Regions from separate parts of the Homo sapiens genome. Here region 1 is linked to region 2. Evidence: promoter capture Hi-C in 16 types of primary human blood cells and fetal thymus (Javierre and others, 2016). All regions are on one chromosome and are shown on one strand. The core of a region is centred on a gene start or on the middle of the fragment in contact, and the rest is flanking DNA. Distances in the headings are between cores, read along the strand shown. Region 1 has its middle 30 kb from the start of LINC01133. Region 2 holds the start of OR10J1 (olfactory receptor family 10 subfamily J member 1).

Region 1 (3,761 bases), core at 976-3,475, 550 kb before region 2:
CTCCTGCTTCAGCCTCCTGAGTAGCTGGGATTACAGGCATGCGCTACCATGCCCAGCTAATTTTGTATTTTTACTAGAGATGGGGTTTTTTCATGTTGGTCAGGCTGGTCTCAAACTCCTGACCTCAGGTGATCCACCCGCCTCTGCCTCCCAAAGTGCTGGAATTACAGGCATGAGCCACCGCGTCCGGCTGATTTTTTTTTTTAATGTTTATTCAGTATATGGCTTGGGTTTCCCTCTGAGAAAAGGATTTGAGTTCAAGTTGTTTTTTGGTTGGTGCAGGAAAATCCTGGTGGGGAGCAGGGAGGAGACACAGGGGTAGAAATGTGGCCCATAGAGGAGGAATTATCCAGCCATCTGCCTCTGTAGGCACTGGGATGTGGTGGGAATATCTGGGGAGTAAAAGCATGCCTCAGAGGGGTTCCACTCCTGAGGTGGCAGAGGGGAGTTATTTATATACAACTCCTGACAGTCACCAGTTGAAGGTTACTGTGTGTGGCGGTGGGTGGTGTCAGGGTGTTAATTCCCTGGCACTTATAGCCTGTCTCAGGCACAGGCAGAAAGGCTGCTTACAGTCTCAGAAAAGGCTGGTAGGCAAAGGAATGCAGACACTGGCATTGGAATTCTTTTGGAAGACACTGAAGTGATGTGGCTCTGAGCATATGGGAGAAGCATGACAGCTTCTGCTATGTACACCTGCTGGGGCTGATTGATCAATTCTGTTCCTTCACAGGTTTCTCATGAGTTTCATCTCTTAACTTTATTACTTTATTCTGTTTCTAAAGCTTAATTTAACATCCCTCTTTTTGACATCTTGAGTTATATGCTTACTTCATATATTCTCATTCTTTCTTATTTGATAATTAAAGCAATTCAGGTTAGTTATGGGGAATCATTGAGAAACCACTTGTAAAAGTGCTTAGCACAGTGTCTGGCAGACAGTAATTGCTCAACAAATGTTCATTACCATTTTCCTCAAACCCTTTGAAGTCACTTCTGTTAAAAGATAAACTTTAGAGAAATTAACATTAGCAGAGCTTAACTGGGCAAATAATGACTTGTGAATCAGGCAGCTTCCCAAACTAGAATAGGATCAGAGTGACTATGGCGCTGCTGTGTGGTGGAGCAATATTTACGAACAGGAAAAGAAAAGTGACTTACAGGAAACAGAAGTGAGGCACAGAAACAGCTGGATTGGTTACAGCTCAGGCATTTAGCTTATTTGAACACAGTTTGAATGGTTGGCAGCCTGTGATTGGCCCAAACTTGATTGGCACAAAAGTAGGCTACAGTCTGTTTATACATCCAGGTAGGTTACAGTTCACGATGTACTGAGAAGCCTTTAGACCGAACTTAAAATAAGTAAGTCTGCAGCTTTAGGCTAAAGTTGATTTTACACTTCTGATTACAGATGTGGATGTCTTCTCTTGATGTTGATATGTGGTATTTTCATTATCATTATTGCCCAAGAGTTCTGTAAATTGCAGTTTTCGTTTCCTGTTTGATCCGTGGATTATTTTGAAGAGTGTTTTCAAACCAAGTAGTTGGACGATTTTTGTTTACACATTTTTTCAATTTCTGGTTTTACTGTATTGTGGTATGCAATGTAGTCATGAAATTTCTGGGCTTGAAATTTATTTAAGGTTTTTAGTGGTTTAATATGTAATCAATTTTAAAAAATTGTTCCATAGACCCTGAAAAAGATTTTTTTTGTTTTTTTTTTCAATATTTACAAAGTGGATCCCAGCAATGACTTTTTTCTGACATTCTACATCTTTTGTTTGTTTACTTGATCTGTTAAGAACTGATGAAATCTCCACAGCAATTGTGTTTTGGTCATTTTCCTCTTATTCAGAAACTAAAGATTTATGACAAACACATCTTCATTGCAGATCTTGATTTTTACTACTTATCCTTTATTTTAATAGTTTAGGACTTTAATTCTTTTTGTATACTATATCTTTTTCTATCTTTTTATTTTTTATTTTTATTTATTTATTTTTGTTTTAGATGTGCCTCTTGTGGACAGTATATGGTTAGATCAAATATGATGATCTTTGTCATTTCATAGAAAAATATAACTTATTTAGATATACTGTGACAACCAATATGTTTGACTTTCTGATGAACTTGTCTGGATTCATTGGAATATATAATAGGAAAAAAAATTTGTTCTTTGTCCTTGGCGCAAAGCTCCTGAAACCTTTGAAATTTCCTGAGCAATAGGAGCATCTTTTGTTATTCATTATGCACCCCTTTCAGCAATCTGTGTTTGTGCTAATGAGGTGACTCTTGGCAGGGTCCCCTAGATCACTTTAAGATGGGAGCTAGTTCTGATCAAGTTCTGATAAAGCTCAGAAGTTTCAGCTCCACCCCCTCCTCATATGGGGAAGGGAGAGGGGCTGGAGATTGAATTTAGTCACCAATGACCAATGATTCCATCAATCATCCCTATGTAATAAAAGCTCCATAAAAACCTTTAAACAATGAGGTTCTGAGTTGGTGAACACGTTCACATACTGGGAGGATGGTGTATCCCAACTCCATGGGGACAGAAGCCCTGTGCTCCGGACCCTCCCGGACCTCATCTTCTGGGCCTGTTCCTTTGGCTCTTCATTTGTATCCTTTATAATAAATCGGTAAATGTAAGTAAAGTGGCCCCTGAGTTCTATGAGTCATTCTAGCAAATTATTGAACCCTGGCAAGGGGTGGGGTGTGGGAAGCCTGACTTTGTAGCCAAGTCAGATGCAAATGTGGGTAGCCTGGAGATCTGATGCTTGTGACTGGCATCAGAAGTGAGGGCAATCCTATGGGACTGTGCCCTTAAGCCTGTGGAGTCTGCCCGCCACTGAGTCTCAGAGTTGAACTGAATTATAGGATACTCAGTTGTTGTAGGAGAATTGGATAATAGGTTGGTGTAGGAAAAAAACACACACTTGGCAAAGATGAAAATCTGTTTTTAGTGTGTGTGTTTGCTAATATTTTAAAAAATATATTTGCTAGTTAGACTATAGGGATTGGACCAGACCAGTTCAGAGATGATTCATGTTGCTTGGGAACAAGCCCTTTATAGCTGCTGCTGCTTTTTGTTTGCAGTAGCTTCTCATGCCCGGGCCCTTCTGCCTGTTTCTCATGAAGGCTGCTGTGCTGCAGAGCCTGTCCAGACCATCCCATGTGGCCTGCTCCTGTGTCCAGCGCTTGTCTCTCAGAGTCTCACTGTGTTGCCCAGGTTGGTCCTTCCTGGGATCAAGGGATCCTCCTGCCTCAGGCTCCCAAATTTCTGGGATTACAGGCACGAACCACTGTGCCTGGTGTATTCCTACAGTATTGTAAAATAACATAGTCCATAGAAATCATGCCCTGTACTGCACTGAAAGAACACTTAGAATTTTCTTTTGCCTAATTCCAAGTCTCAGGTCATTTTAGTGACACAATTTTGCTGTTTTTCGCTCATTATGAATTATTCTTTCTGAGATGGATGGAGATAGAAGATCTGGCTTGAGTCCTTTTGTTGCCATGTTTTACATAGAGGGCCCAAAGAAGCATTCATATTCTTTTGCAGCTACCTCCTGAAAGAGGATTTTCATTTCTCTTGTCAATGGACTATGGGCAGGTTCAATATGGTCTTGGCTAAACTAGATGTCTTAAAGTGTAAAAGAAGCTTCTCCAAAATTTATCACAAATGTCTTATTAATTTAAAAATGCAAACACAAAATCTCAAATAAGGAATTACATTATATGCTTGTTTAACTTAAGCAAAC
Region 2 (3,905 bases), core at 666-3,165:
TAACATCTCCAACAGTCTCTCTCTCTTCCCCTTTCCTTTTCTTTCTTTTTCTGAGTTCTTCTTTAATTGTGTGTAAACACCACTTACCATAAAGAACTGAAACCATACTGTCAAATGCTTGTTTTTACCACTAGGCTTGTAGCTTCCTGAAGCCAGACAAGAAAGCTTTTTTAATCTTTATTTCTCCAGGACCTAGCACAGAGGCTAGTTCATAGCTCTTGCCCATTATGTGTTTTCTGATTTAGCCAAATTTGAAAGGATCCAGGAGTATCTCAGATTATGCCCTCAAAACACTGTCATGATGACTGTAGAATTGCCAGCATCTCTAATTAAACTGTGTATGCTCACCATCTTTAATAAGCAGTTTTGCTAGAATCTGGGATAAATTAACACATCCAGGAGAGAACATCTATTTCTCCTGGGCTATCTAATCCTGAGGCCACTTTCCCTCCCCACACAGTAACTTATTACTTGACATGTCATAAACATACTCCAATAGGGAATCCAGTTTCAGAAGCCCTGGTGCTCTAGTATAGGAAGAAAGGGATTATAGGAAAAAGATTTTAAGTGTGTCTTGGATTCTATTTTCTCAAGGGGCTTTCTATTGCCTTCATTAGGTGGAGATTCACAAAGAAACCAAAAGGTCAGTAAAAAATTCTCAGCCCATACTACTTTCTGGCCTTTTATTTAGGCATATCTTATCCTTGTTTGTCTATTTATCCCCAAAAATAGGGATAACACTCCATCCAGTAACTTTATTTAAAGCTTCAGACTCCCAGTTGTATGAAACTGCTATTCCTCTTTTGCCTCTTATTTAAGGGGCAGGTCTCTAGGAGCCAAGTGTTTGTGAGTTTACACCTCATATTCCTGCCTAGTGTGGATGTTGACAGCCTCAGGAGAACTCTTCCTACATGGTCAGGAAAACTTCCCACCAACAGCCCTGCACAGAGCATCTTTGACCTCTTTATTTCTCAGGGTGTATACCACAGGGTTCAGTAGGGGAGTGATGACAGTGTAGGTCACCGAGATCAGCTGGTCATGTTCTCTGGTGTTCTCTGACTTGGGCTTGAGGTAGGCAATGGAGGCACAGCTGTAGTGGACAATGACCACAGTGAGGTGGGATGCACAGGTGGCAAAAGCCTTCTTCCGGCCCTCAACTGAAGCAATCTTGAGGATTGTAGAGATAATGAGAACATAAGAAATGAAAACCAGACCCATAGGTACAACAAGCACCAGCACACTGATAATCAAAGTCAGGATTTCATTGACAGTGGTGTCAATGCAGGAGAGCTTCATCACAGGGCGGATGTCACAGAAGAAGTGGGGCACCTTTCTAGCACAGAAGGGTAACCTGAATACAGATGTCACTTGCGTTATTGCTACAATCAGCCCAATGCTGCAGGCCCCCAGGACAAGTTGGATACGCAGCCTCTTGTTCATAATAACCATGTATCTCAGGGGGTTGCAGATGGCCACATAGCGGTCATATCCCATTGCTGTGAGCAGGAAGCAGTTAGTGATGCCAAAGGTTACAAAAAAGAACATCTGTGTGGCACACCCTGCCAATGATATGGGCTGGCTCATACCTACGAGGCTGGAGAGCATTCTTGGGAGAATGACCAATGTATATACAGTCTCTGAAGTGGACAGCATGCTCAGGAAGAAGTACATGGGTGTGTGAAGATGAAGATCCATTCGGATGATGGTCACAATGATGATATTGCCTGCTAAGGTTAAGATGTATAGTGCAAGGAACACGCCAAAAAGGGTGATCTGCTGCTCATGGAAGCTAGAGAAACCTTGGAAAACAAAGTCAGTGATGAGAGTAAAGTTCTCTCTTTTCATGGATTGGTTCCCAAATCTGAAACATAAAAGCATAAAAGTCACATAGTCCCAGTAAAGCAGTAGAAGCACATTTCTGAAATTGATTGAAGTTCAATAGTTCTCAGTTACAAATCTGGTGATGTATTTCCTAGTGGATTAAGTTAATCCCTGGGTTTACTTATCTTTACTTAAAATATTTTTACTCTGTGACCATCTGTTATAATTTTCCATGCATCATAGAATCATATAGTCTCACTTTTTCACTGTATAACCATACATGCTCCTACTTCATATCTACTCTTCCTCCCTGACATCTGGAATGGCTTCTCTTTTCTCCTCTTATTTCTTTCCTACTCTTCAGAGATGAGTGCACATTTTCAGGCCTTCATAAAACCGTATTACACTCAGAGGTTCTCATGTTTATTTGGATTATTTTTACCCCATTATTGCTGCCTCACCTCATACAAACACTTAGCAACTTTATAATACCTTTTACATCTTTTCATATTTCACTAGCTCCAAATTATGCATGGATTGGGTGCTTGAAAATAATTTGTTTAGGGATGGACTAGTGATGTCTTTTCTTTCAAGACTATGAATCATCCTCCTTGCGCATCCTTTAAGAATTAGAAGCAAAGTAGAAAGGTTCATCTTGTCTTCAAGAAGAAAAAGGAAAATCTTAGCCAACCACCAGCCTCTCCCCACTTCTGTCTGAGTGATGGAAGTCTGCTGACAGTTCAGAGCACTGATTCACGTATGTTATAAACTATGCTACATCTTTACCTTCCCTAAACTAGAAGGCAAATTTATAGCCAATACAACTTTGTGAGTAAGCCTACACCCACTCTGCAGAGATAAACAATTGTATCAGGAAAGATACAGCAAATTTAAGTGTCCCTCACCTAAAGCAAAAGCAAACCCTGAATATAAAAAAACAGCTACACCAAAGATACATCATTTTGTTGAAGGAAGGGGATCAGTTCAATTTATGTAATATTTCACATTTTTATCTCTTTAAACAGTAAGCTTCTCTAGGGTATTTAAATTATATTCTGATTTGCTTATGCATATTCAGAAAGAGAAGTTTTGCATAAAGTAAATCACATCAATGATGAAGGTTAGTACGCACGGAGACTTTCTTCAAGTTCATAAAAATCTATTTAAAAGAAGTTGATGACCAGCTGTTAATCATTTACACTAAGAATGCTAAAAAGAAAGTAAAGCTGCAATAGAGAATATTTTCCAATAAAGAAAATCATTTGATACTAAAATATATGTCTAAAGACATTTGTCTTCTGTGAGGCTTCTGAGCAAAAACTATGTAGTAGTCCAGCCACGGAGTGGTATGGTGCCTCTATGGTGAAATCAGAAATGCTTGGCAGAGCTTTTAACTGTTACAATAATGAGCACAGAAGCTCTTGGCCATTCACGATGTGAAATGTCCTGCAAAACTTGTGGTGATTCTGCCCAAGGAAGAATTCCCTTCTTCCAAATACCAATAAAGTTCCCATTGAGAAACACACGGCTAAAATATCATCTTATCTGGCTGAAACTTGTCTGTCTTGAGGTAGAAGAATGGCTATTATGATTTGGTTAGCATCCTCCCCACTCTTGGAAGTCTATAATTCTTCAAAGGAAATGGAAGGAAGAGCAAATATAGCTTATGAAGACCTGTCCAGCTGTGATAGGACCTGAAATACTACAATAAATTAAAGTCAGCTCATATGTAATGAGCCCCATTTCAGTCCTTCTTCTAAAGACCACTCACATGACTCTGCTTAGCACTGAGGCACAACGGGAAAGCTGGGCTGGAGGAGGCCGAGGAGTAAAGATTGAAATGTCAGGCTCCCTTGGCCACAATGGATAGGCATAGGGTGACCAAGGTGAGCAAGGTGACCAAGAGTGCCTACGGCAGGACCTGAGGCTGAGCAGGCAGGGCATAAACACACACTAGTAGGAATATAGTCAGGTTTGAGAGTCATAGGCATTCTTGATAACCCCTCTGTGTGGAAAAGTCTTTGAAGCCAGAGGAGATGCTCTCCCAGGATCAGGCAGCTGGGCTTCTGGGGGTCACTCCCTGA

What was found. Contacts are between HindIII fragments. The CHiCAGO score rates a contact against its expected background, and 5 or more counts as called.
Region 1: a contact is called between a fragment that was not itself captured here and the fragment with the promoter of OR10J1 in region 2, in 1 of 17 cell types (neutrophils). The highest score is 6.3, in neutrophils.

Annotation. Positions count from the first base shown.
Region 1 is chr1:159,989,150-159,992,910 of GRCh38, reverse strand. No RefSeq gene overlaps it. Among named protein-coding and RNA genes, the nearest start is that of LINC01133, 30 kb to the right of the region's middle. The HindIII fragment of the contact is 2,876 bases long and covers 788-3,663 here.
Region 2 is chr1:159,437,732-159,441,636 of GRCh38, reverse strand. OR10J1 (olfactory receptor family 10 subfamily J member 1) reads right to left here and starts at 1,915. Exons shown (of 1, transcript NM_012351.3): 1 at 670-1,915. The coding sequence starts at 1,845. The coding sequence ends at 916. The HindIII fragment of the contact is 2,085 bases long and covers 768-2,852 here.